Regions from separate parts of the Homo sapiens genome. Here regions 1, 2, 4 and 5 are each linked to region 3. The links are contacts of gene promoters, found by promoter capture Hi-C in blood cells and fetal thymus (Javierre and others, 2016). All regions are on one chromosome and are shown on one strand. Each heading gives the region's core, a stretch centred on a gene start or on the middle of the fragment in contact. The rest is flanking DNA. Distances are from core to core; before and after follow the strand shown. Region 1 overlaps FGL1 (fibrinogen like 1). Region 2 holds the start of LOC124901893 (a long non-coding RNA gene). Region 3 holds the start of PDGFRL (platelet derived growth factor receptor like). Region 4 holds the start of PCM1 (pericentriolar material 1). Region 5 overlaps MTMR7 (myotubularin related protein 7).

The links. Contacts are between HindIII fragments. The CHiCAGO score rates a contact against its expected background, and 5 or more counts as called.
Region 1: a contact is called between a fragment that was not itself captured here and the fragment with the promoter of PDGFRL in region 3, in 1 of 17 cell types (total CD4 T cells). The highest score is 5.1, in total CD4 T cells.
Region 2: a fragment that was not itself captured here is called in contact with the fragment with the promoter of PDGFRL in region 3 in 1 of 17 cell types (endothelial precursors); the score reaches 6.6 in endothelial precursors.
Region 4: a contact is called between the fragment with the promoter of PCM1 here and the fragment with the promoter of PDGFRL in region 3, in 7 of 17 cell types (naive CD8 T cells, total CD8 T cells, activated CD4 T cells and 4 more). The highest score is 9.5, in naive CD8 T cells.
Region 5: a contact is called between a fragment that was not itself captured here and the fragment with the promoter of PDGFRL in region 3, in 1 of 17 cell types (endothelial precursors). The highest score is 6.1, in endothelial precursors.

Annotation. Positions count from the first base shown.
Region 1 is chr8:17,885,935-17,890,920 of GRCh38, reverse strand. All of the region lies in intron 1 of FGL1 (fibrinogen like 1), which reads left to right. Among named protein-coding and RNA genes, the nearest start is that of FGL1, 7.1 kb to the left of the region's middle. The HindIII fragment of the contact is 1,999 bases long and covers 589-2,587 here.
Region 2 is chr8:17,859,322-17,864,833 of GRCh38, reverse strand. FGL1 (fibrinogen like 1) reads left to right here. Exons shown (of 8, transcript NM_004467.4): 8 at 83-445. The coding sequence ends at 242. LOC124901893 (a long non-coding RNA gene) reads right to left here and starts at 4,366. Exons shown (of 2, transcript XR_007060835.1): 1 at 4,066-4,366; 2 at 3,765-3,876. The HindIII fragment of the contact is 1,253 bases long and covers 1,670-2,922 here.
Region 3 is chr8:17,575,634-17,580,473 of GRCh38, reverse strand. It overlaps PDGFRL (platelet derived growth factor receptor like), which reads right to left and starts at 3,258. Exons shown (of 6, transcript NM_001372073.1): 1 at 3,167-3,258. The coding sequence starts at 3,221. RefSeq lists silencers at 2,853-2,902, 2,993-3,052. The HindIII fragment of the contact is 7,010 bases long and covers 1-4,840 here.
Region 4 is chr8:17,919,937-17,925,327 of GRCh38, reverse strand. It overlaps PCM1 (pericentriolar material 1), which reads right to left and starts at 2,340. Exons shown (of 39, transcript NM_006197.4): 1 at 2,140-2,340; 2 at 548-615. LOC124901867 reads left to right here and starts at 341. Exons shown (of 4, transcript XM_047422505.1): 1 at 341-414; 2 at 1,101-1,171; 3 at 1,562-1,819; 4 at 1,982-4,300. The coding sequence starts at 341. The coding sequence ends at 2,664. RefSeq lists enhancers at 1,313-1,372, 2,523-2,972 and silencers at 1,834-2,128, 4,854-5,148. The HindIII fragment of the contact is 6,694 bases long and covers 1-5,391 here.
Region 5 is chr8:17,312,487-17,317,888 of GRCh38, reverse strand. It overlaps MTMR7 (myotubularin related protein 7), which reads left to right. Exons shown (of 14, transcript NM_004686.5): 8 at 4,488-4,597. It also overlaps a transcript of VPS37A not described here. Among named protein-coding and RNA genes, the nearest start is that of VPS37A, 68 kb to the right of the region's middle. The HindIII fragment of the contact is 2,218 bases long and covers 602-2,819 here.

The sequences.
Region 1 (4,986 bases), core at 339-2,838, 310 kb before region 3:
ATGTTATGGGATGGACCCAGTGGAAGGTAATTGAATCATGGGGGCAGCTACCCCCATGCTGCTGTTTTCGTGATAGTGAGTTCTCCTGAGATCTGATGGTTTTATAAGGGGCTTTTGCTTGGCTCTTCCCCTTCCTGCCATCATGTGAAGAAGGACATGTTTGCTTCCCCTTCCACCACGACTGTAAGTTTCCTGGGGCCTCCCCAGTCATGGCAAACTGTGAGTCAATTAAACCTTTTTCCTTTATAAATTACCCAGTCTCAGGCAGATCTTTACTGGGTAAATTTATAAAATGAGAATGGACTAAGACAGTAGGGGACAGCTGTTATTTTATATGTGGTAGTCAGGGAAGGTATCTCTGGGAAGGGAATACCTGAGCAAAGACCTGAAGGATGTCATGGAGCAAACCACAGAGATTTTCAGAAGAGCATTCCAGGTAGAGAGAACAGCAAGTGCAATCGCCCTGAGAAGTCTGTGTATTTCAGGGTTTTCCAAAAATGCCAAAGAGGCCAATGTAGCCAGAACAGGCAAAAATGATGGGAAAAGAGATGTGTTGAGGAGGTGGATGCTCACAGATTATGTAAAGCTTTGTCGGTGAATGACCAAATATCCCGGTTTGCCCAGGAAAGGCTCAGTATAGAATGTTGTCTCATTGTAATTCTAAAAAATTGTTTGGAATCTTCCATTGGTAGCTTGGGCCAGACATTAGCAATAGAGGTGGTGAGAAATGATTGGATGTTGTATAAATTTTGAACGTAGAGTCTTTCCTTAGGAAAGTTACTTTGCTTCACTATTTGAGCTTCCTTTAGTAAAAAGTAAACATAATGTGTCTTCTAAAGACATCGTGAGATTTCATGTGTTGATGATGTATTAGCAATTTTGTAAACATATTTTAAATGGCACACATTAATGTATTAACATGGGAGGCAGCATTGATATAAAAACAGGTTCTTGCCAATTTGTTCTCTCTCTGATCAAGTAAGCTGCAAACAGTATATTTTGAACCTATTTTTTTGGTATTCATTGTAGTATAAATGGTTATAATGATTTTCAAGTGTGTTCTTCCTATCTAAACAATATGCATTAATTTGAAACAATGAAATTGCCATTTTTCTAAGTCAGAAATGTTCAAACATCTGCCATTTCTTATAGTTCAACATAATACAGTAAGAAAGGATTAACCAGGCAATAAAGAAAGAGGTTCAGGAGATTTGGGAGATATTCCCAGGGGATATCCCCAGAGGCTGAATGGTCCTGGAGAAATCATAAGCATCCTTGTGCTTGTTTTCTTATTTTCACTGTGAGGCTAATGAAATAAAATAAAATGGCCAATTAAAATTTGATAGTGTTTTGATAGTGTTGTTGTTGTTTGAGGTGGAGTGTCGCTCTGTCACCCAGGCTTAACTACAGTGAGACAATCTCAGCTCACTGCAACCTCCGCCTCCCAGGTTCAAGTGATTCTCATGCTTCAGCCTCCCGAGTAGCTGGGATTACAGGTGTGCACCACCACACCTGGCTAATTTTTGTATTTTTAGTAGCGATGGAGTTTTATCATGTTGGCCAGGCTGGTCTTGAACTCCTGGCCTCTGGCGATCCTCCCACTTCGTCCTCCCAAAGTGCTGAGATTACAGGCGTAAGCCACCACGCCCAGCCAAAGTTCGGCAGAGTGTTTAGTGATGCCCAAACACAAACACAATATGGTTTCAGATGAGTATTCCTTATTTTTCCAATCCACGTTAGACTTGGGGAAATAGCCCTTGTCCCCTTGATGATGGGCCCTTTAATGTAAGTAATATTGCAGCCTTGCAGAGGTACATTCTACTTGAATGGCTAGCTCATTTTTATATAATGCCCCAGGCCACGCAGGCTGCTTGGCATCTTTGTGGAACTACGCTTACTGTCCCATCAAGCCTGTTTAGCAATTATTGTGTGTCATTATTAAAATATTATTCTCTTATTGTGAAGAAAAGATACTAAAGCATGCTGTAGGTCAGTCATTTTCTAGTGACAGGGATTAGAGGACTAGAATCCATTCAATTTTTAAAACTTTACCTACGAATAGTTAGAAAATATATGCTTGAAATAATCTCATTCTAGTTTATTGTTATTGTTTATTTTCTAAGCCTTCTTTACAAATATATTTTCCCACTGTAATTCAGTTTAAATGGATGGTTTTTACTTCTTAATAAAATTATTGACTATTGATTTATATCTGATACAATCCTTTGTAGTATTCAATGCTGATGTTGAAAAAATTCAGCCACAATGAATAAGGAGTGTTCCCAAGGACCCTCAGACAAAAAAAGAAAAACAAAAGAAAACATGAAACTACCCCCAGGATCGGAATGAAAATGTATTTGCTCCTAACATCAGATGTCTTCGGTTTAGAATACTTATTTCAACTTGAAATTTTCTTAATTTGTAGACATAATCTTGACATCTGGGAATAAGAGATTTAGGACACTACTGCATTGCAAATGATGACTCTTTAGTGCAGTCAATGTTTTTATCTTAAAGAAAATGATTTTACCTTTCATGACAATAATAAATGTGACCTAGAAAAGTGTTCCTTAAATAATTCCAAGCTTATTATATTAATTAGCGAATATTAATTGATAGCAAACCTAATCATCTTTTCTTCTAATTTGGTCACGACTTCTGTTCCTTTGCAATCCTATTCTCACCCCATTTTATCTTTTATAAAAATACACAGAGGGTGTCTCTTTTTCACATTGGTAAATGTTTTAAATATCAGAAAGTTAATTTTCTCTATTTTTAACATAAGCAAATATTTTAATATAATCAATTATATTTAATACATTACATATAAAAACATCTACTATTTCTATTACTGGGCCTAAGATTACTATTTCTATCACTGGGCCTAAGACTACTATTTCTATCACTGGGCCTAAGATAGGTACATACTCAATATACAATTGAATTTTAAAGAAAAAATATTTACTAAGATAAAATAAAGAGTGAAATGCCAGAGTTCTTATAAATTGTTGCTACAAATTATATCATATGTTTAAAAGGATAACTTTAATGGAAAAATGGGTCTAGAGATACTTTTTTTTTTTTTTGAGATGGAGTCTCGCACTGTCACCTGGGCTGGAGTGCAGTGGCGTGATCTCGGCTCACTGCAACCTCCACCTCCCAGGTTCAAGCAATTCTCCTGCCTCAGCCTCCCAATTTGCTGGGATTACAGGCACCCACCACCACACCTAGCTAATTTTTTGTATTTTTATAGAGACAGGGTTTCACTATGTTGGCCATGCTGGCCTCAGTGATCCGCCCGCCTCGGCCTCTCGAAGTGCTGGGATTACAGGTGTGAGCCAACACGCCCGGCCCATCTTGGTTATTTTGTTCACAGTGTTGGGTGAAAGGGTTAAGTCATGACTAATTGCTATCATATGAATTTCTGCCCAGTGTTGTAATACAGAAATTTGGTGTTTCTCTTTAGACCATTTGATGTGGACAGAGAATGAAATGTAAAATATGCCTCTCTTCAGAAAGAAGACTTACGTTGAAAGAAATAAGCAGAATAGTGTGCCTATACCTTTTATACCTCTCCCAGGTGCATGAAGGAGGCTTCCCAACTGGTGGGATTCTTTGGAGAGCGATCAGTCAAGGAAAAGCCTCCTTTGATGGAGAATCCTCCAATGTCAGTCTCTGAAGATCTTTTCGGTGAAGCTCTGCTGTTCCTCCAGCGAGGAATCCTATGTTCTTTGGCCTGGAAAGTGGTAGGAAGAGTGTAGAGCCGGTTGCCTGGCTGCAAGAGAAGAAGCCTGGGAAAGCCTCACCCTTTTTGAACAGGGTCTCTCTCCTCCCCTCCAGCACTTCTGCTGTCATGTCACCTGGAGCATCTCTGGGCAATCTTAATAGAAAGTAAATCTTCCATATTCTGAAAGGGTACGAGAAGCAGCATTCACCTGGCTGCACAGGATTTAGATGAGGATCTGACTGTTAGCCCATTTGCCTCTACCTTCACTTCCAAGCTAGCAGTGCCTCCAATCCAGAATCCCCTAGGGTGCTACACTGTGACTTCTCTCGCTTCTCATGGTGCTCCTCTCTACTGCTGCTTTGCCAATTCCCCTACTTCTCTTCTCTCCTCTCCTCTCCTCTCCTCTCCTCTCTTCTCCTCTCATTTCGTTTCTTTCTAGACAGGGACTCACTCTGTCACCCAGGCTGGAGTGCATTGGCACGATCTCGGCTCACTGCAACCTCCATCTCCCGGGTTCAAGCAATTCTCCTGCCTCAGCCTCCCGAGTGGCTGGGAGTACAGGCGCCCACCACCACGCCTGGCTAATTTTTGTATTTTTAGTAGAGACAGGGTTTCGCCATGTTGACCAGGCTGGTCTCGAGCTCCTGACCTCGAGTGATCTGCCCACCTCGACCTCCCAAAGTGCTGGGATTACAGGCGTGAGCCACCGCACCAGGCCCCCCACATGCCTTTTTATCATCTACCAACTTGCTGACATTGCACACTAGCTGTTCTTTCCCTTTCTCTTTGACTTTGTCAGTTCGCATCTTTTAAACTTTTTCTTCACTCATTTTCTAGTGGGCTTTGTGAGAAGGAAAAAATTAAATTCATGTGTTCAATCAAACCAAAAGTCCCCAACTCCTTCTTAACTCTTACCTTCAAAACTATACTTAGCCCATTGTTTTCCAGTAAAAGAGGAAAGTATGTCAGTATAAACAGACTGTAGTTTAAAGCAAGGAAATTACATTTTTCCCTCTGAGAACGATTTTGCCTCCTGAGGAATAATTCCGTAGAAGCAACAACAGTTATTGGGGTCACCACAAGAATTAAATGCTAGGGATACCAAAATTAGCAAGGTGTGACCTTTGCTTTCAAAAATCTTACTCTAGGCAGTGGCTCACGCCTGTAATCCCAGCACTTTGGGAGGCCAAGGCGGGAGGATCACTCAAGCCCAGGAGTTTGAGACCAGCCTCACAACATAGGGAGAAAAAGACACAAGC
Region 2 (5,512 bases), core at 1,047-3,546, 290 kb before region 3:
ATTTGTAGCAAAATAAAAGGGATTCTGAACAATATTTTTCCAGTCTGATTGTTGTTTTCTTTTTTTTTCTCCCTTCCACTAGGTGTCACTCTGCAAACCTGAATGGTGTATACTACAGCGGCCCCTACACGGCTAAAACAGACAATGGGATTGTCTGGTACACCTGGCATGGGTGGTGGTATTCTCTGAAATCTGTGGTTATGAAAATTAGGCCAAATGATTTTATTCCAAATGTAATTTAATTGCTGCTGTTGGGCTTTCGTTTCTGCAATTCAGCTTTGTTTAAAGTGATTTGAAAAATACTCATTCTGAACATATCCATGCGCAATCATGATAACTGTTGTGAGTAGTGCTTTTCATTCTTCTCACTTGCCTTTGTTACTTAATGTGCTTTCAGTACAGCAGATATGCAATATTCACCAAATAAATGTAGACTGTGTTAATATTTATTGAATCCCTGTGTGCAAAGGGCTCTGATAAGAGCTTATGTCAGACAAAACATAAAAAGCATGGATTATATACCATGACTTAGGAGATACAAGCATAAATGCATAATAAATTATGAATGCAATTGGCAAAACACATGACAAAATCCAGCAAATAATGGATTGCCGAATCAACCGCAGAGACAATAAATATTATGAGTTGGGATTTGAACTCAGGTTTTGGATTACAGAGTGGAAACTTTTAAGCACAACCCAGGATCTTAATCACTACAAAACGCTACTCGTATTTTTAGGAAGTTTATGTAGGTTATACACTTCTCTCACAGGGCTCATTTTAATTCTTATGCCAATCCTGTGAGGTTATTATTATGTCCATTTAACAGAGCTGAGAATCAGTGGGTCTGAGTTTTTGTGACTGCTCCAAGTTACAAAGTAGGGGAACAAGGCCTCAAATCCAAGTCTTCTGATGCTAAATCAAATATCTTGCCACCATCCTATAGCTTCTTCTGGGTAGAACTTGGATTGGTGCAGAATAGGGAGAGAACGTTTCAAATGAGAGTAAAAGATACTCCAAAAGGCTGGGCACGGTGGCTCACGCCTGTAATCCCAGCACTCTGGGAGGCTGAGGCAGGTGGACCACTTGAGGCCAGGAGTCTGAGACCAGCCTGGCCAACATGATGAAAACCCATCTCTACTAAAAATACAAAAATTAGCTGGGCGTGGTGGTGTGAGCCTGTAATCCCAGCTACTCGGGAGGCTGAGGCAGGAGAATTGCTTAAACCCAGGAAGCAGAGGTTGTAGTGAGCTGAGATCGTGCCAACCTGCACTCCGACCTGGCCAACAAAGCGAGAAGCCATCTCAAGAAAAAAAAAAAAAAAGATACTCTAAAAAATATTTGTGTGTCAACTGTGTGTCAGGCACAGAGGATACAGTTAAAGCCCACACGGAGCTTAGTTTTTTGGTAAACACATACACTAATCATAGAATCACAAAATATACATAATTATAAAAGCTGATATGTATGAAGTAAAGATATGTGCCTGGGGAATGTTTACCAGGAGGATCTGACCTGGCTTTGGGGTAGGAGATCAGAAAAGCTTCCCAGAACAACTGACTTTTTGAGCTGAGACCTTTTAAGAAGGTGTACGTGGGGAGATATTGCAGGCAGAGGGAATCATGTGTGTTAAGTACACAGAGCAGGAAAGTGCTTGGGAACAAAAGCTTAGAAAGCCAATATAGTTGAGTGATCCTTAAATCCTTAAGCCAAGGATTCTGCCACTTAATGGCTATGTGACGTTGGGTAGGCAACTTAACTTCTCTGAGCCCTAGCTATCTCATCTACAAGGTAACGATTACAATAGTACCTGCCTCATAGGGGTGCTTTGAGAATTATAAAACTATAGCACTTGGCATAGTGCCTCGCACAAAGTAAGCATTCAATAAGAACTAGGTGTGTTGACTTGTGAAGTAGGCATTAAGGGACAGTAATGATATAGAGGCCCTTGAAATCATAGGCCACATAAGGATATTAAGGTTAGTTGTACTTTATTCTCTAAATCAGTGTTTCCCAAGCGGCACTTCTCAGTCTTTAGTGTCATACAAACCAACTGAAGATCCTGTTAAAATGTAACTCTGCTTCCAGGATGGGGCCTAATATTTGGGTTTTCTAAGAAGTTTCCAGACAATGCAGATACTGCTGGTCTAGAAATTACACTTTGAAAAGCAAAAAGCTAGAGAGCCATAGTTCTGTGAGACATTGGTAGTTCAGTACAGAAAGAAGAAAAGGGCTGCCTGATCAAATAAATTTAGGAGATGACAAATTCAGCAGAATTCCACAGGTTTCTTCTCTTGGGAATTTCTCAGTTCTCTAATTTTTCTAATGTGCGTTCTGAAGCTCCAAGAAGGACATATAGTATGTAGCATTTTTATATCTAATTAAGAGTATGTTCTGGTGCGAGGTATAAATTGCCTGACTACGGAAGTCCAAACAAATAAAGATTTCTTCATCTTACGTAGTGAGAACTCAGGAGGTAAGTGGTTGCTGACCTATGTTCAGTGCAGCGTGGAGGCTGATGACCCTGCAATTCATTTAGCCCATCCTTCAAAATTGCAAATTATCTACCACGGTTCCTGCTTTGAGTTCGTGTTGAAAGCAGTAAGAAAAGCGAAGGGTCAACAGACTTCAGTTATGCCTTGTTGGTCAGAATTGTATCATATGTTCACTCTGTCTGGAAGTATGATCAGGAGAAAGAATATTTATTTTTATGATCTCTGTAGAATGTGCAGGCAAAGGAGAAATGTTTGCCAGGGTTCTTGATTGTTTTTCAATGTGGTCTTGTGGGAACAGTGTTCCATAAAACACACGTTGGTAAGCTATAAATAATGGATCATCAGTGACAATTTTAAATATGGGCTTAATTGCTCAAGTAGTAGCCTGAAGAACTCACACAATTAGGAGATCAAAAGAAGAAAAGCTTTTAAAGGAGAAAAAAAATGATTCCACAGAGAAGTGGGAGGGGAGCTAAACAAATTATGGCGTCAAACCTCAGTATGATAGTTTTTCAATGCAGAAGGAGTGATTTTAAAAATTTAAAATGCCATAAAATAATGGAAGAGAAGTTCTAATGAAATATCTTCGGACTTAGTGATAATGCTATTTGTGTTATTAAATCCGTTTCAGTGGAATGGTAGGGAGCTCTAGGCCAGGAAATAAAAGCAGTTAGAGAGAATAGATTGGGGCCTGGAGCAGTGGCTCACGCTTGTAATCCCAACACTTTGGGAAGCCTAGGTGGGTGGATCACTTGAGGTCAGGAGTTTGAGACCAGCCTGGTCAACATGGTGAAACCCAATCTCTACTAAAAATACAAAAATTAGCTGGGCATCATGATGCATACCTGTAGTCCCAGCTACTCGGGAGGCTGAGGCAGAAGAATCGCTTGAACTGGGGAGGTGGAGGTTGCAGGGAGCCGAGACTGTGCCACTACACTCCAGCCTGGGCGACAGAGTGAGAGACTCATCCAAAAAATAAAAAAGAGAGAGAATAGAGATTGGTCATTTGAGGAGTTTGGATGTAAAATAGGGAAACTGGACTGATTTTTTCTGAATTAGGAAGACCCCAGCCTAAAATAAATGTCTCTGAAATTTCACCATTAGTGAGCTATTTATTAGACTTTATCACTTTTTGAAATGCAAAATGCTTTTAATTTGTATCAGCTGATTCCACTTTAAGGTCAACAAACTCGTGAGTGTTTTGAATTTTTTTTTTTTTGATAGAGCAAAGTGTAGAGAAAGTGCAAGAAGCATGAACAGAGAATCCACTGGATTAGAAACTCTTTATTTTAGAGGCTGCATTCATCTTGTTGACAGTTTTATCTCCAGCTCTCCGCACAGTGTCTGACACATGACAGGATCTCGAATGTTCGTTGACTGACTGATTGAGGAAATAAGTAAAAAAAGAAACCATATAATGAATGTAAAGTGTATAGTTCATAGAAGAGTGCTACTTCATTTGATATTACAGAACTTATGGCCACTGGTTATTTCTATGAATATCAAAATATTGGATCCTACAAAATCAGTGTCTAAAAATAGTATCAAATTTAAGATCCCAGATACTTACTTTTGCTTTTTCTTTCCTCATTGCTAGTAAAGAATTTACAAGGGCCAGGCGCAGTGGCTCACGCCTGTAATCCCAGTACTTTGGGAGGCCAAGGCGGTCGGATCACCTGAGGTCAGGAGTTCGAGACCAGCCTGGTCAACATGGTGAAACCCCGTCTCTACTAAAAATACAAAAATTAGCCCGGTGTGGTGGCACACGCTTGTAATCCCAGCTGCTCGGGGGGCTGAGGCAGGAGAATCACTTGAACCCGGGAGGTGGAGGTTGCAGTGAGCCGAGATTGTGCCATTGCACTCCAGCTTGGGTGACAGCGTAAGACTCTACCTCAAAAAAAAAAAAAAAAAGAAAAAAAGAATTGACACATGAAGATATCCTATATAATCTTATGCACATAGCAAAGTTTTTGTTGGTATTTTATCAGGACTATGAAAAGTAAGTTATATCCTCATTGATACTTAAAAAAGATATACATATCTCATATATATGTGGAAAAAATCTGCATTTTATGTGATAGTGGTTACCTCAGGGGACTGGGCTTGGAGACGCAATGAAAGGACACTCCTTTTTATATTTCCTACCATTTAATGTTGTGAAATGTTTTATCATATGTGCATAGTACATATTTAAGAATAATACTTTTTATATAAACAAAGTGAATAAAATAGGTTGTTCGTCCTAAAGAAACAAATCAAATAACATTAAGGACATGAGTGTATCTGGTATATTACATGTAGGTTTGGCAATTTAGTTCATTTCAAAAACAAAAACAAAAGTCCTGAAGCTAAATTGCTATCAAGCTGCGCTGTGAATACAGCAGCCACCAATCACATGTGACTCCTGCTTACTTGAAATAAGGCTAGTCCTTATTCAGATGAGCTATAAGTATAAAATACACAATGGATTTTGAAGACATAGTATCCCAGAAAAAGAGAAAATACCTCCACAAATAAGAATAATTTTTATGTTGATTACATTGTTAAATAATACTTTGGATGGATGAGGCTAAATAAAATATATTACTAAAACTAATTAGATCTCTGTATTTGTACTTTTTAAATGCCATTATTAGACACTTTACAATTATATATATTGGCCAGACGCGGTGGCTCATGCCTGTAAACTCAACACTTTGGGAGGCCGAGGTAGCCGGACCACTTGAGGTCAGGAGTTTGAGACCAGCCTGGTCAACATAGCAAAAACCCGTCTGTACTAAAAACACAAAAATTAGCAGGGTGTGGTGGGGCACACCTATAACTCTGAGACCCTGAGGCATGAGAATCGCTTGAACCTGGGAGGTGGAGGTTGCAGTGGGCTGAGACCATGCCATTGCACACCAGCCTGAATGACAGAGCAAGACAGCCTCAAAAAAAAAAGAAAAGAAAAAAAAGAAAGACAGAAATTTTAAAATTACATATATTGCTCTCATTACCAGCTTGTCTTATATTTTTAT
Region 3 (4,840 bases), core at 2,009-4,508:
GATCAGAAATGGTTTTGTATGTCAAACATGCCAGCCAAGATCCTAAATGCTTCAAAGCATTCATTATGTGCATTCATAAACAATAAGGAACTTTAGAATTCTTTTTTTCATTAAAATATTTCTGTACTAATTTTTACTCTTTTTTTTTCTCAAAAATAAACGAAGACACGAAAGTGTCAAAGGCTCTTGGTTAGAGAATCCTCGTCATTGTGTCTCTGTCCTTACCTTCTTAGAGATCTGGCTATATTGCTCTCAGACAATAATGAATGTCTGTAGTCCTCCAAGAAAGAAACCCCTTTCACCAGATGCAAAATAAACCCAGGTTACTGAAGACCAGATTAGCATGGATCAAGGATCTCATGTTATTCAACAGAACTCGTTGCACAAATCAATATTAACACTTCAGTGTTTGCTCCTGACATTCAATAAAAATATGTAGGTAATCAAAAGTCAGGAAATATTTGTGATTTTATACTTTTCAATGTGAAAATAGAAGCACCCTATTAATAAACTCGGTGGCATGTATTCCATATAAATGCTGAAAATCAGGTGCTATGATTGACATCTCAACGTGGAATCTTGGATTATTTATTACCTGTTTTCATCCCTCAGTTTCATGCCATGAAGTATTATGTGCCTTTCCAGCTCCCCATCTTCATGAGGAGAAAGAACATTACTTCCAAAAATTTAAAGCATTTTGTCATTGGGAGCAGCCAGCTTCATTGGGTCACAGGCCAGATGTTCACCCCCATACACACTTGCAGGGAAGTCTTTTCCTCTTAGAAGGCTGTCTTTGGCTAGTTGTGGTGGCTAGCACAAGTGGAAGTCGCAGTGAGCTAAGATTGTGCCACTGCACTCCACCTGGGTGACATAGCAAGACTCCATCTCAATAATAATAATAATAATAATAATAATAACAATAATAATAAAATAATAATAAAGACTGTCTTTTAGATGTGATCAGAAAAACTAAAAGGCAGTGAAACAAGTTGAGTCATGGACCTTGTGTCTGTAATTTGTGCTTTGGGATGGCCTTGAAGGCAGGATATTCCCAACCTGCCAATCTGAGACCAGCACTGGAAGGGCCTCCTGTGTAATCCACTCTCCTTAGTAGCTCCTGGCCACAACTCACAACACAACTCAAAACCAAAAACCATTCTTAATAGGTTTAGCCAAACGGTTACATAACTTAATGAAGCACTGTGTGTTCACTATTGTATCCATAAATAGTCCATACATTATAGATATGTGTGCTTTTATTTTTATCTTTATTTTCTTGAGATGGAGTCTCACTTTGTCGCCCAGCTGGAGTGCAGTGGTGCGATCTCGGCTCACTGCAACCTCTGCCTCCCAGGTTCAAGCAGTTCTCTGCCTCACCCTCCCAAGTAGCTGGGATTACACGTGCCCACCACCACGCCCGGCTAATTTTTATATTTTTAGTAGAGACGGGGTTTCACCATCTTGGCCAGGCTGGTCTTGAACTCCTGACCTTGTGATCCACCTGCCTTGGCCTCCCAAAGTGCTGGGATTACAGGCATGAGCCACTGTGCCCGGCCAGATGTGTGTACTTTTATAAACAAAATCTTCGTGCTATTATCACCTAAAATTTATGAACTATTTCTTACATTCAGTCTGTATTCCACTTTCTCCAATTGTCTCATAAATGCTTATTGTTTGTATGGATTACACTTAAAGAAAGGGTAAATTTAGTCAGATGTTTGTAATAAACTCACATGGGCTGGGTGAGATCCAGGAGGCAGAATGGAAGTCAATTTCTGAGCCTCTAAGACTGGCAAGTTGGGTATAAACAAAGGAATGGCTGATTTGAAATTATTTTGCCTGGCCATCTCCTGCCCTATTCAAAAAATGATACTACAAATTACATTTCTGCCTTTTCAGCGGTTGCACACAAGGGCCTGCCAGGAGCATTTTAATATTGCATTTTACAAACTGAACTCATGGCAACTTCTCTCTGGGCAGAGTTAAGTGTTACTCTCCCAGTAGAAGCTCTGCCTACGTTTTATTAAGCAAAGCTCTAGGCTGAAGGACCCTCATGCTCAACTTCAAGTACCACGACTATCTTGGATTTTGCAAACTACAATGCGGTATTTTTTTGGCAAATGTAGTTTCCTAGGAAAGAAAGGAACTGGTCAGGATGAACGAGTGGATAAAAATGTGAGCCAGGTCGAGCTGGCTCCAGCATGAAGTTGCATAACAGCAAAAGCTACTTTTCCACTAAATCTAAGCAAAAATTGTGTTGTAGCCCAGGAATTTCAAGAGAGGGTTGAGGACACCAGGAGGCACCCAGATGAAACATGTACTGTACAAATAACACCCATGGAGTGAATAGAGCAAACAAAACATTTAAATGCTAACAATAATATATAATACACACCACAGTAATACACACACCCAGACACACAGAAAAATAACACCAGACCCTGTGGTCACGGGTGTACACGACAGGGTGGACCCAGGACAGGTACACATTCAAAAACGCGCAGCGGTCATGGTCCCATAAGCTGTACCAAAAAAATGCATTTTCTTCACCATTTCCCATCCAATTAGATAAATATAATAAGCCGTGGGCTTTTGATTCGTTTTGAAGTTTCATACACTGACATTTTTGTTCGAAGATCTAGGCAGATCTTGCAGGATTCAAGCAAAAGGTGGTAGACGAAAACACGCCCAGAACTGCGAGGGGAGGGGGAGGTCACCTGGAACTCTGCAACCGAATCAGCGATTGCCGAGCTTAGGTGGCACTCGCTCTCAGCAGCAGAGGTCCCAGCCACGCCGCTGGGAGGTGGAAGCGATCCGAGGCTCCCGCCCCACCTCCCAGACCGACACGTTGACACTGGGGGCTGGACCAGGCGCTGGCTGGGGATGCTTGGTTCGCCCGGAGATGGGGACTTGGAGAGGTCCTGGTGGGCTCCTAAGGGTCGGGGTAGCTGCCACCACCCCTAGAGGGCTCTCCGGGCAGGCAAAGAGTGGGAGGAAAGGAGACCCCACCAGGAGGGGGCAGGTGCACCGGGCAGGCAGTGGCGCGGGGGCTGAGCCACCGAGGGCCGAACGTTAGACCAAGAGCTGGCAGGAGGGCGGCGGGGGCTTCGGGTCCCGGCTAAAGTCAGGGCACAAGCTAGGTGGCCCCGCGCCCAGAGTCACTCACCATCCTCCAGCGCTTCGTGCACCAGCAGAAGACCAAGCAGCAGCCAGACCTTCATCTCGGGAACCTCGGACCTCGGAGCGCAGGAGCGCGGCGGCTGCGCGGGGCGGGGACGCAGGGGAGGCGGCGGGCGAGGGGCGGGCTCCTGGGACGCCGAAGCGGGAGGATTCGGTTTCTTCAGGAGGAACAAGGTTTGGGGGAAAAAGTTGGGGAATTTTTTTTTTTTTTAGTTCTCTGTGTAATGTGACTTCTCCTGCCCCCTGGCGGAGCCGCGGTGCGCAGCACTTCTTCCCAGCGCGGGGAGGAAAGGCTAAGCGTGAAATGTACATTACAACAGCCATTCCTTGAATTTCTCCAACGCTTGGCGTTTTCACCAAGGTTATCAAGTTCAAGAAGGATCAGCGGGTGCTGATGGGGTCACTTTTAACCACGATTGTCCAAATGTTACCAGCGCCCGCCCCACCTCCTCAGGCAGAACCTGAGTGCTCTGTAAAAAGTGCTTCCTAAATTATTTCTGTTCATTCCATTTCTCTCCCCCACATGCACTCACTCACAGGACCGTTGCCCCGGGTTCTTGCTGCTCCTCTGTGTCTGGCCAGAGTTGGTCTCCGCACCCAGCCCTGTAACTGCTGGTGGGGGTGGGAGGACGGGTTCATTACAGGAATAACGTGGAAAATGAGACTGTGCAGACAACCCGGGCCTCTGGTGGTGAGGCAGGAGAACAGGGAATTAGGGTAAGCACGGGCTAGGGTATGAGCAGGAGAACAGCAGGTGCAGCCAGTTCGCAGAAGCAAAAGATCAGCAGGTGCAGACAGTTCTAGGCATGATTAGGCGGCACACAGGCCACATCCTCGCTCCTCTGATAACAAGGCAGAAGTTTCCACTTCAGCCTCGGACTGGTCGCAGGCCAGTCCTTCGTAAGGTGTAACCAGTTGGAGGCCTCTAAAGGGAACCCAAGGGTGTTGCCAAGTTCTTTTCGCTTTATAAAATCCCTGGGGAGCGTCAGGCTCTTGTGGCTTGCTGCAGCGCCCTCTGTGAATTGTCTTCTATAAATCTACGTTTTCCTTCCTCCCTTCTGTTGCTTTGTTTTTCCTTGCTTCTTTCTTTCGTTACTCCGTGCATTTCGTTCAATTTTTTGTTCAACAGGCCAAGAACCTGGACAACTCTATCAGGTAACAGTGGGGCAGAAGATACGGGCTTTCACAAGTCCCTCTGCAGAGAGCCATCCTGCGTTTCTGAGCTTGCAGACTCTCATGATCAAAGCAGTTTGCTAGCGGGGGAGATGCCTGTGTGTGTTCCCCCGGTGAGAAGCAGCCCATCTCATTGTAATCTTCAGCACCAGGCACTGCTATTAAAGGGAGCTCAATTCTAAATAACAGGAAAGGGACTTGTCCCTCAACACCCAACGAAAGAAGTGCTGCCATTTATAACAAACTAATGCTTCTCAGTCACTTCTGCAGGAGGAACCAAGAATTCTATATTCTGTTGCCAGCTCTAGCCGGAGCTTTGCCACTCGCTTGCCTTGCGATGCAGAGAGCAGTTGGCTGGGAATAAAGACCAGAGTTCAGATGCTGACACTGGCACAAACTCTCCATGCCTCTCAGAATTCACTTAACCTTCTGGGTTTTAGCATCTCTTGTTTATTAAGAAAGGGAACTAGGTGATTATTTCAACAGG
Region 4 (5,391 bases), core at 1,091-3,590, 350 kb before region 3:
AGAGAATACCTTTATGTCACTTGCATGTGACAATGTACTATGCGCTAAAAGTAATGTTTCAAGTAACTTTATACCAGGAAAGGGAGATCGAAGTACAAAAAATAATAATAAAGTAATTTTAGACAACTAAATTTCGGTCAAGGTATAACAAGTTCGACAAGTAGAGTTCATGAACAGCCAATTAATAGGAATGTTGTAGGAGAGAACTTGAGATTAAATGGATTTGGAAAGAGAGGCTATCCAGTTATAGGACAAATTCAAACAGGTTGAAAAAATTCTGTGAAGACAAATAAATTTCAAACGGTACTGCATAAACCATTCTAGTAATTAATAATTAGGAATGACAGGGCCTTTCCGAACAAAGATATACCGGCAGGCCAAAGCAGCACGCCGAAAAGCAGAGCAAACAGGGCGGTGAACCCAGAAAGTTTGTTTACTAAGCAGAGAGGATCCTCAGTCATGCACTGTAACTGTGACAGCAGTGTCCACCATAAAGTCTTCTCCAACTCTAATACAAAGGATAATACAGATAATAATGTCAAATTACCTGTTTAGAAACTAGTTTTTGCAGCTCAGAAACTGCTCCTTTCCCGCTCCACACTTCAAAGCTGTTTCCTAATTAGGATTAAAAATATGTATCACTTAAGTAAATTACTTACGCTATGAAATACAGAATAAAAAATACTTCAGTTTTGGTCTAAAGTATGTTTAGAAAGATCAAAAGAAGGGGAAAAATATAACTTATTCATATTTTAAATTTAAGTTACCTCAATTCTTTTGGAAAATAGTGTGATATGCATAAATGCTTAAATCCCCTAAACTTCTGAAATCTTACCAAACAGCAAAGTGATATCTATTTCGGAACAGTGTAACAAAGATGGTTAGCCCTAACTATCCTTTAATAGTCTATGCCAAAGTTTACTCCTCTGATTGATCGAGCTTCCTGTTACTCAAACTATGTAACAACCTCGTATATCCGATGATTTTAAAAATGTTTGCTCATTTAAAAGCTACTGTACTTCATAATAAAATAACCTCGTCACTACATAAATACCAGGTTTACCTTCAATTCAAAAACTCTGTATTATATTGGTGTTCAGGGGTCCTCACCAGGAAGGTGCTAGGGAAAGAAAGGAGCAGGTGCACCCGAGGCTCTGCAACACCCACTCCGGTAACCAGAGAACACCAGCAGGCGGAGTCTGGAAAGCGGTTATGGGGCGGGGGTGGTAGGGGCGCCCAGAAAGCCCGCTCCTTCCAGCGCCCAAACACGAACCGTCACCCGTAAGACACACAATACAGACCTCAACTCGCTCAAAAAAACAAAACAAAACAAAAAAAATTAAACCAGGCGAGTTCCTGGGGAGTAGGCTGAGGGATGCAAAGTTGGCGCGCCCAGCCTCCCTGGCGGGGCCTAATCCCCAAACGCCAGTTTCTGTAAACCAAACAACGTTTCCCCCAGTCCCACTTGGCATTTAGTCTTTCCCGGTTCTAGGCCCAATTCTAACTAGATAGGTAGGAAGGGAGAAAGAAGGGGCAATAATTACTCCATTAACCTTCCCAGGAACGCCTCCCCCGGCCCATCGGCTCCCACAGCACCAGAGACGGCGGAAATCCTGCAGCTCACAGCCCAACTGCAACTCTTCAGAGTCGCGTCGCTCCTCATCCGCCCTTCTACACCCCAAACTCTGGACACCGAGAGTTCCACAGAGGGAACGCGGGGAAGAACTATGGCCACCAAGGCCTGTTTCTCTAAGAACTCGACCCAGTGCCCCTAGCACCCAAACCAGAGTCCCCGCTCCGCTTCCTCCGCCCGCAAGGGGTATAGCCGGAGCCACCGGGACGCAGAACAGCCTCCCCGACAGGGCCAGCAGGAGGGGCGAGGAGGCAAGAAGGGAGTCCTGCAATCACCAACGCGTCGCGAGGTGCTCACCCGGGGATCCCGGCGATCAGTCCTGAGGGAGCGGGCGGACTGACCGCCTAGGGCACGGGAAGCCCGGGGCAGGAAGACCCGGGAACCTACAGAGGAGGCGTGGGCCCGTGGCCAGACCCAACAGGGCCGAGTGTCCCGGAGCCGTTACTCTCCCGCCTCTGGGGCGCGCCGCCCTAGGTTGCCAAGGGCTGGGGACGCGCAGGCATTACCTCTACAAGAAGCAGCCTCTCCTGTCAAAGGCAGAGCGACAGTCAGCCCCCACGACCCGCCGCCGGCAGCGGTCGGCCCTCGGAGACCGCAGCAGAGAGGCCCACACGTTTCCTGGCTGCCTCGGCCCCAGTGGCCGCCTTTTCGACCTCAGCTACGCAGCGCCAACCGCCGCAGCCACCGCCATCTTAGGATCTCATTGTGGTGGGAGAAGAGGGGCGGGGGTACTGCAGAGGGGGCAACGCGCGGCGGGACATGCGCCGTCTCCTCGGCAACGGCCGCGCGGGGGCGAGAACTCGCCCGGGCGGGAGCCGCAATGCGAGCTAGACTGGAGTCATGTGACCCGCCGGAGTCTGTGGTGTCGCTTCTGGCTCTTTAAGCCGAAAAGAGATTACACCAACGAATCCGCCCCCACCCGCCCAGGAACTATGTATCCCAGAATGCCAACTAGACCTCGCGTTCTAAACGCCTGCCGGCCACAGGTGGAGGACTACAAATCCCAGCATGCCGTGCGCTTCCGGCGCTGATCGCGGAGCGTGGGGCCCTAGGCCTATGCGGAAGTGCATTGATCCCTCAGCCCGTGGAGAAAGAGCGGAGGCGCTGTGCGGTTTTCCGTGGGGGTGTCAGCTCCGGCCCGTGCCGGAAGAAGGAGCCAAGACCGGGATCGCTTTTTTGCCCCTTCCTCACCCCACATTCGGTCACGAAGAGGTGGAAACAAAAGGACACTTACAATGTAGTCCAACCTCCTGATTTTACATATGAGGGGATTGTTCCACGGAAGTTAAACAATTTGCCAGACGTCATTATGTATCTACTGAGTGAGAGAATCATAAATATTGTTGATAGTTAACGCCACTTTTGGTTAATGTCCCTTTTCCTTAAAAGAGCCAGATGATTTTAATCCAAACTTAATTTCAGTAAATTTTCTCTGAACTATCTTTTTATTTATACTCTCCTGTTACAGCTCTATTAAGATTAATAAATTGGCAGGTCCTCCCTTTAAAAAACAAAAATCAATAAAGTCACAAGGCCTTCAATGTGCCTGACTGGAAAGGTAAAACACCTGTCAGTTTTAGTTGAGTGCAAGGGCATTCTTCTAGTTTTACGCAGTTTATAATTATGGAATAACTTTTTAAGCAAAATAAAGGTAAAAAGAAGAATTGCATTCTGGGTTTCAACAACAAAAACAAATTGTTCCCAAAATAGTAGGTCTGCATCTCAGTACGCAATTCACATAAAGCTCTTCTATCCCACTGCAATCTGCCACCGTAGGTTCAGTCGTGAGTGCATTGATCGTTGGTCAGACACTTTTTCCTCATATTCTGTGTGTGTATCGCTAACTACTGCGGTAGCAAAAATATAGTCCCTGCCCTTGAAGAGCTCATATTTTAGTGAAGGATGCGGAAGTGGAGTGTGATGTAAATAAAGTTTGTGTTGTAAGAAAAAGTGCTGTGGGAGCTCAGAACACAGCAGCTAAACGCTCAGGTGTTTATTGTAGTCCAGAATGCCCTATCCTAATTCCACCACTCCAAGATCCTGGACAAGCGACGTGCCTTTCTGAGCCTTAATTGCCCCATCTATGAAATGAGGGGGAAGGAATGATACTGCCTACCTTGAAAGGATTTTTTAAAAAATGTTCTCAGAGTTTGTTTTATGCCAGGCACACTGTAAAGCACTTCGGCTGTTGTGATTTTCTTGATCCTCACAGTTACCCTGAAGAGGCTGGTTCTGAATCTGACCCGTTTTGGCAATGAAAGATTATATAAATCAAACTTGTAGCAGCTGCAAGTGGTAGAGCCTAAATTTAAACGGAGGTCTATGTGATTCCTTTAAGATTTTTTTTAATTAAATACAACGCATATAAAAACACTAGTATATGTTGAGGCCCGAAATATTAGCTATCATCATTATTTTGCTTTATACATATGTATTATTATTAAACGTATGTAGAAGCTGTTATCATTAAAACAATTCTAATAAATTCAAAAGCGTGAAATTATAATACGTACTAGTCATTATGTTTTCTGAATTTATGAAGCTCCAGAATGTCAATACTATTGTTTATTAGGAGGTAGGAGGAATTTGAGAAATATTTACATTGAAATGTAGAAGCTGTTATCATTAAAACAATTCTAATAAATTCAAAAGCATGAAATTATAATATCTACTAGTCATGATGTTTTCTGAATTTATGAAGCCCCAGAATGTCAATACTATTGTTTGTTGGGAGGTAAGAGGAATTTGAGAAATATTTACATTGAAAAGGGGATCTCAAACTCAAATATGAGCATTACTGATCTTTGTAAGGGAAGAAGGAAAGAAAAAAAACAAGAAGCGATAAAATTATACCTGGCTTTCAGAAATTTAACATCTATTTTTAGAAACAAACTTTATCAGAATGAATCGACTTAGTGTTAATAGTCCGTCACTATGCCAAACAAATGATGTAGACACTGATTGCTGTGGTAATTTAGATTTTTAAAATAGGGATGTTTTGTCTCAGAGATAATGATAGCTCTAGGATTTATAGGTAGGATGAAATTAGGGGCAGCAGTCTGTGGAAATGTAGATAGGAAACAGAAGAATGGCCTCTAAGAGATAAACATTGAAACTGCCTTTCAGTTTTCCACATTCAAGAGAACAACCTAACACATGTATTAAATATGCAGGGGGTGGAAGTTCCAAATTGCAGAATGATGTTCAAGGAAGTGGGATATACCAAGAACACAGATCACACATCCAGAGTAAGCAATGGACAAAAAACAGACTGGCTGAAGTAGAGGATTTATATATGGTAAGTGATGGGGAGGTGGGAGAAGGCAAGGTTTATTACCAGGTTGGGGCCAAACTATAGAAAGTCAACTACTTATCTAAAGAGTGTGGACTTTGTTCTTCAGTTAGTGTGAAACCATTTGAGACTTTGGAAGAGGTCAATGCTGTAATGAAATGGTTATTTGAAGACTTCAATCTAGTGGCAATGTTTTGTAAAGACTAGGAAAAGAAGACAAGGAGAACAGGTGCCAACCTGTCATGAAGTAATGAAGGCTTGGCCTAAGGTAGTAGCAGGATGAATAAAGTAAGGGATTTAAATTTTTATTCACATAAACTAAATCAGTTGTTATGATGTGAAAATACTATTTCTGTTTCTTGATATTTGGTAGGACACTAACCAGGTGGTACTTATAAGATAACACAGCCGGGCACGGTGGCTCATGCCTGTAATCCCAGCACTTTGGGAGGCCGAGGCGCGTGGA
Region 5 (5,402 bases), core at 461-2,960, 260 kb after region 3:
GATTGAAAGAGGAGGTCATGGAAACAAAAATATAAAAGCTGCAAAATAAATGGATGAGTGATAAGTAATGCCACAGACTAGAAAAAAAAGCTGCAATTTATGGCGGAAGTATGAGAAACCCCAAAGTAAGCTAAATAGAAGTGCAGATCCTTAGACAATCTCTGGAATTCGAGCCATCAGGTATCTCTGAAACGAGTAGTAGCCGAATGTTTGCACGAGAAGCAGTTCATTGGGTCCCAGCCTCCTTCCTCCCCTGCACTGCCTAGTGAAGCCTCTTTCCACACTTCCACAAGAGAAGATGGTGATACACTTTCTGGAAAGTCAACCTTTCTGGAAACGTTGACCGCAGGGACTCTGGGATCAGGAGTACCAGGCAAAGCTGGAAGAGGGGATGGGGAATTCCAGGCCAAAAACAGGGGTTAAGTGAAAGTGTAAGTATGGAAGAATGAGACCCATGGTTACTGCCCCAGCTGTCCTCTTAGGACACTGGCATCCAACGTGATGCACTCAGGTGTTCAGAAGATTCCATGCCGGGGCCTACAAACATCGAAGACAAAGGACTCGCAGATGTTACATTGGCCAAATCCCCCATAGCAAAGCTTGGCAGCTAAGAAAGCCTGCCCATGCACACGGCACACGGCACTGCCAGCCAGCATCCTGTGTCTTGCTCTTACATGTGAATGGATAGGCAAAAATTAGCAGAAAACTGAGGAAAGCTCAACATGCAGGACAGAGACCACACCCCCACAACACACACACATATAAGCAAGCAAATTCTAAAAAGTCTGGAAAACAACATTCAGAGAAGAAAACAAAAACTGCCATTAATATTCTTAGAGAAATATTATAAGATTGGCAAAACTTAAAGCATCAGCATTACCAAGTATTAGTTGGGATATGGGAAAAGGAACTTTCCCAACCTACTGGTGAGAGCATAAACCACTGCAGCCCTTTTCAAGAGCAATTTGGCAGTAGAGTCATCCCTCAGTATCCAAGGAGAATTGTTTCCAGCACCCCCACCCCAGCCCCCATAGATTCTCAAATCCACACACGCAGAAGTCCCTTACATAATAACATGGTGTATTTGCATATAGCCTATGCACATCCTCCCATATATTTAAAATCATCTCTAGATTACTTGCAATACTTAATACAATGTAGGTGCTGTGTAAATAGTCGTTACACTGGATTGGTTTTCTATTACCATTATTTTTTGTTGTATTGTTATTTTTATTTTTTTCAAATATTTGTGCTCTGTGGTTGGTTGACTCCAAGGATGTGGAACCCGAGAATACAGAGGGCCAACTGTGCATGATAGAGCTGAAGACTTAGGAACTCTATGACCCAGCCCATTTCACTTATAGAAATCCAGGTACAGGGAGACTTTCCACAAGGAGACTGTAGAAAGGTTTTTTTTTTTTTTTACTGTACTGTTTGTAAATATTGAAAAGGAGGGAACAACTGTCAACAGTAGGGGGATGGATAAATAATTTAAGATATAGAGTGGAATATTATATAGCTGTTAAAATTAATGAAATTTATTTACATAATATGGATATCTAAAAAAAGTTGGATAAAAATTGCAGACTATAATATATATGTAAATTTTAGTACCTATAAAATATATATATTATTTGAGAATAATAGTAATAAGGGCTAACATAAATAATAACAGTTTGATACAGAGGCTATTATTACCATTTTACAGTTGAGGAAACTGAAGGACAGAGAGGCTAAGTAATCTGCCCAAGCCCACATAGCTAGTATGTAAGTAGTGAAAGGACAAAAAGTTCTTGGGAATATTAACAATCTTCATAGGAAAGAAGCAGGATGACACGAAAACACGAGACTTTATTTGTAACTTTATTTTTTAGAGATAGGATCTGGCTCTGTCATCACCCAGGATGGAGTGCAGTGGCAAGATCATAGCTCACTGCAGCCTCAAACTCCTGGGTTGAAGTGATCCTCTCAACTCAGCCTCCCAAGTAGCTGGGACAGTAGGCATGTGCCACTCAGTCTCGCTCATTTTTTCTCTTTTTTGTAGAGCCTGAGTCTCACTACTTTATATAGGCTGTTCTTGAACTCCTTGACTCAAATGATCCTTCTGACTTGGCCTCTCAAAGTGCTGGGATTACAGGTGTGAGGCACTGTGCCCAGCCTTTTTTCTGTTTTGTTTTTTTTTCTTAAGAGACATCTGGAGCAGTTGTGGCCAATCTGGATGTCTGTTACATTATCATGTTTTTAAAGACTTTTTCTTTTTAAGAGCAGTTTTAGATTCACAGCAAAATTGAGCAGAAGGTACGGAGAGTCCCAGCTAGCCCTGCCTGCACACATGCACAGCCACCTGCATTATTCACATCCCCGACGGAGTGGTACATTGTTGTGATCAGTGCACCTACATTGGCACATCGGTATCACTCAAAGTCCACTGTACGGTTCCCTCTTGCTGTTGGACATTCTGTGGGTTTTGACACGTTTAATAAATGTAACCACTGTCGTAGTTTTCTGCCCTAAACATTCTTGTGCCCCACCTATTTATTTCCCTCACAACCCTAACCCCTGGCAGCCGCTGATTTTTTTACTGTCTCCGTAGTTTTGCCTTTTCTAGGAGGTCATATAGTTGACATCATATAATATGTAGCCTTTTCAAGGAAAAGTTGGCTTCTTTCCCTTAGCACTGTGCATTTAACTTCCCTCTGTGTCTTTTCATAGCTCATCTCCTTTTATCACTGAACAGTATTTCATTGTCAGGACATACTACATTTTAAACTTCATATGTTTAAATATTGTATAACTTTTAATGATTAAAACTGTAAGCTTGGGAACTCTCAGCCCACGGCTGACTACCCAAGGGCCACAGGGCTAATATATAGCCATAGATTCTGTGAATCATTGTGTGTATTTTTCACTGGCCTTCCACTAAGCACCCTCTCATTTACCGTTCTGCATGTACTTTATCAGACACATAGTGTCTTCCTGCCTGTGATGCTGGGCCTGAGGTGTGCAAGGGGCAACACTGTGACCTTAGAAAGGTAGTGCTCTGAACCAGAGCGAATTCAAAGGGCTGTCCCTTCACCGACTGCATATCAGGTCTTCAGAGCTGTGCTTCTAGCTCAGGGCAGGCATTTGGAAGGAAGATTTTGGAATCTTGCCTGAACATATTCATAATATGTTTTTCTTAGGTTGGGTGTTTTGCTGGGAATTTTGGTGTTATTTCCTTCAACACTGTTGTCATCTATGACTCAGAATTTAACTACTTGTGCTTTTTTGTGTGTGGCTTTTATGCTGCAGGAAATCACAGTGAATCCTCTTATCTGCATTCTTGGAGGCAGGGCATCTGATAAATTAATATTTTTGTTAATGCTGCTATGTGACCCATATGCACAGTGCTTTCAAAGAGTTCACAAAGTTGAATCTGGGGGTTTACAGTTGGAAGGATATAATTTATACACCTTCCCCATTTTAAAAATGAAGAAATTGAGGCTCAGAGACTGGAATAACATGTGCAAGACTACACAGCTCATTGCCCATGGAGTTGGGGGTAGAAAAATGGGCTCCCTTTTCCCTATGTGTGTTTACTGCATCACAGAGAACAATAAAATAAAAAGAAATCTATGATTTCTTGATTGAATTTCATTGGTTGATTGATAAGACTCCTCAATAGGGCTTTATAGGTCTAAACCTCCACTTTGGATTGCCGTATTTGTGATATGTACTCAGAACACTAGCTCTGAAGCTTTTTAATGCTTTACGTTAAATAAAAGAAGCTCCTGAGGTGAAAGTTGGTGGTTTATAATATTATAGAGGTGTTTATACACCTGCCTTAGTTGTGTAAATATAGATACCACTGGGATCCTAGGTTTTCTTCATTTTCACTCAAAGGGAAAGCCTCTACCCTGATGCTCTAGAATTGGATCAGAGGCATATGTGTTATTTTTAAGCTTACAGGCCTTACTCCCATTGGGTGGGGGTTATTGGCAAGAGGAGTTTGATCATTTTCATTTAAGAAATTTAGGATCGCTCTGTCTTGTGTTTTTACAACAGTCCTAATCTGAAGTGGTTGGGTGACAGAAACTTCTAAGTGGGTAGGTGCTACACTTAGTTATATGATTTTTTTCCTCATAGCACTCCCAATTCATATTCCTTAGTGGCCCATTTTTAATTACTTTGCTGGAAAGGCAAATCGATATTTTCTGCCAGAACTCTTAATGATTTTCATTAATATTAGGATTTCAACCTTACATATATATAATACTTGTAAACAAGTGCAGCATTCCCTGTGACCAGAGAAGGTAGAAAAGCCTTACTTGAAATGGTTCCATAGAATCAAGTTTAGTAAACGTGGGTATTTATTTTGACTTAAGGCTTGCTTCCAGAAAATACCTAATACAACAAAGGAATCATTAACAAACTACCTATAAAACATGATCATATGTAAAATGAGAGAGTACCTTAATTTTGCTTTTATAACATGATTTATCTTGCAGTGTGTGAACTTAAATCTCCCTCCATGAGTGATTTCCTGTGGGGTCTGGAGAACTCTGGCTGGTTAAGGCACATTAAAGCCATAATGGATGCAGGAATCTTCATTGCAAAGGTATGCAATTGCAGAGAAAATAAATTAAGGGACAGATGAGCAAACCACTGACTTCAAAATGGGTATCCCTCTGCCATGGGCTTCCCTGTCTTAAGCTGCACTGCACTGACTGGATAGCCAGCTTTGTAGAGCTCCGTAGTCTGTGCGCTGAAGATATGATTTTGCGAAAGAATACAATGCTTAGCTGATAGTGTGTCAGCACTGTGATCAAATGGTAAAATATTTCCAGAGTATTCTCTTCCATTAGGCTTAATCCTGGATGGAGGAAAGAATTTTCTGTAGAATACAACCAAATGTGAGTTACTTCAGTGATGGGGCTTGGGGCTTACATCCAGTAGAGCCTTCTTTTTAGTCATGGCATAAGCAAAAGTCATGTTCCTGTAGCTGGAAGGTAGAGTCCATTCCGCCATAGGAAAATGTCGCTGCAGCTTTCACATAAGCTGTTTTAGAATGCAATGTCTTTTGTGTTGTTCAGTTTTTTTTAAAGAAATAAATACCTTGGATTTATACCTAAAGAGAACCATATCTTCCCTGATGCCATGGTATGTTCCCTGTTTTGAGGTAATCATTTATTCAAGAAATCTTTATTTAGTGCCAGGTACTATTCTAGATTTTACAGATGTGATGTGAATAAGGCAGATCAAGTCTCTTCCCTCACAGAGCTTATATTCTGCTGGGGGAGACAGAGAATTTTTTTTTTTTTTTTTTTTTTTTTTTGAGAGGGAGTCTCGCTCTGTCACCCAGGCTGGAGTGCAGTGGCACGATCTCAGCTTGCTGCAACCTCTGCCTCCCAGGTTCAAGCGAT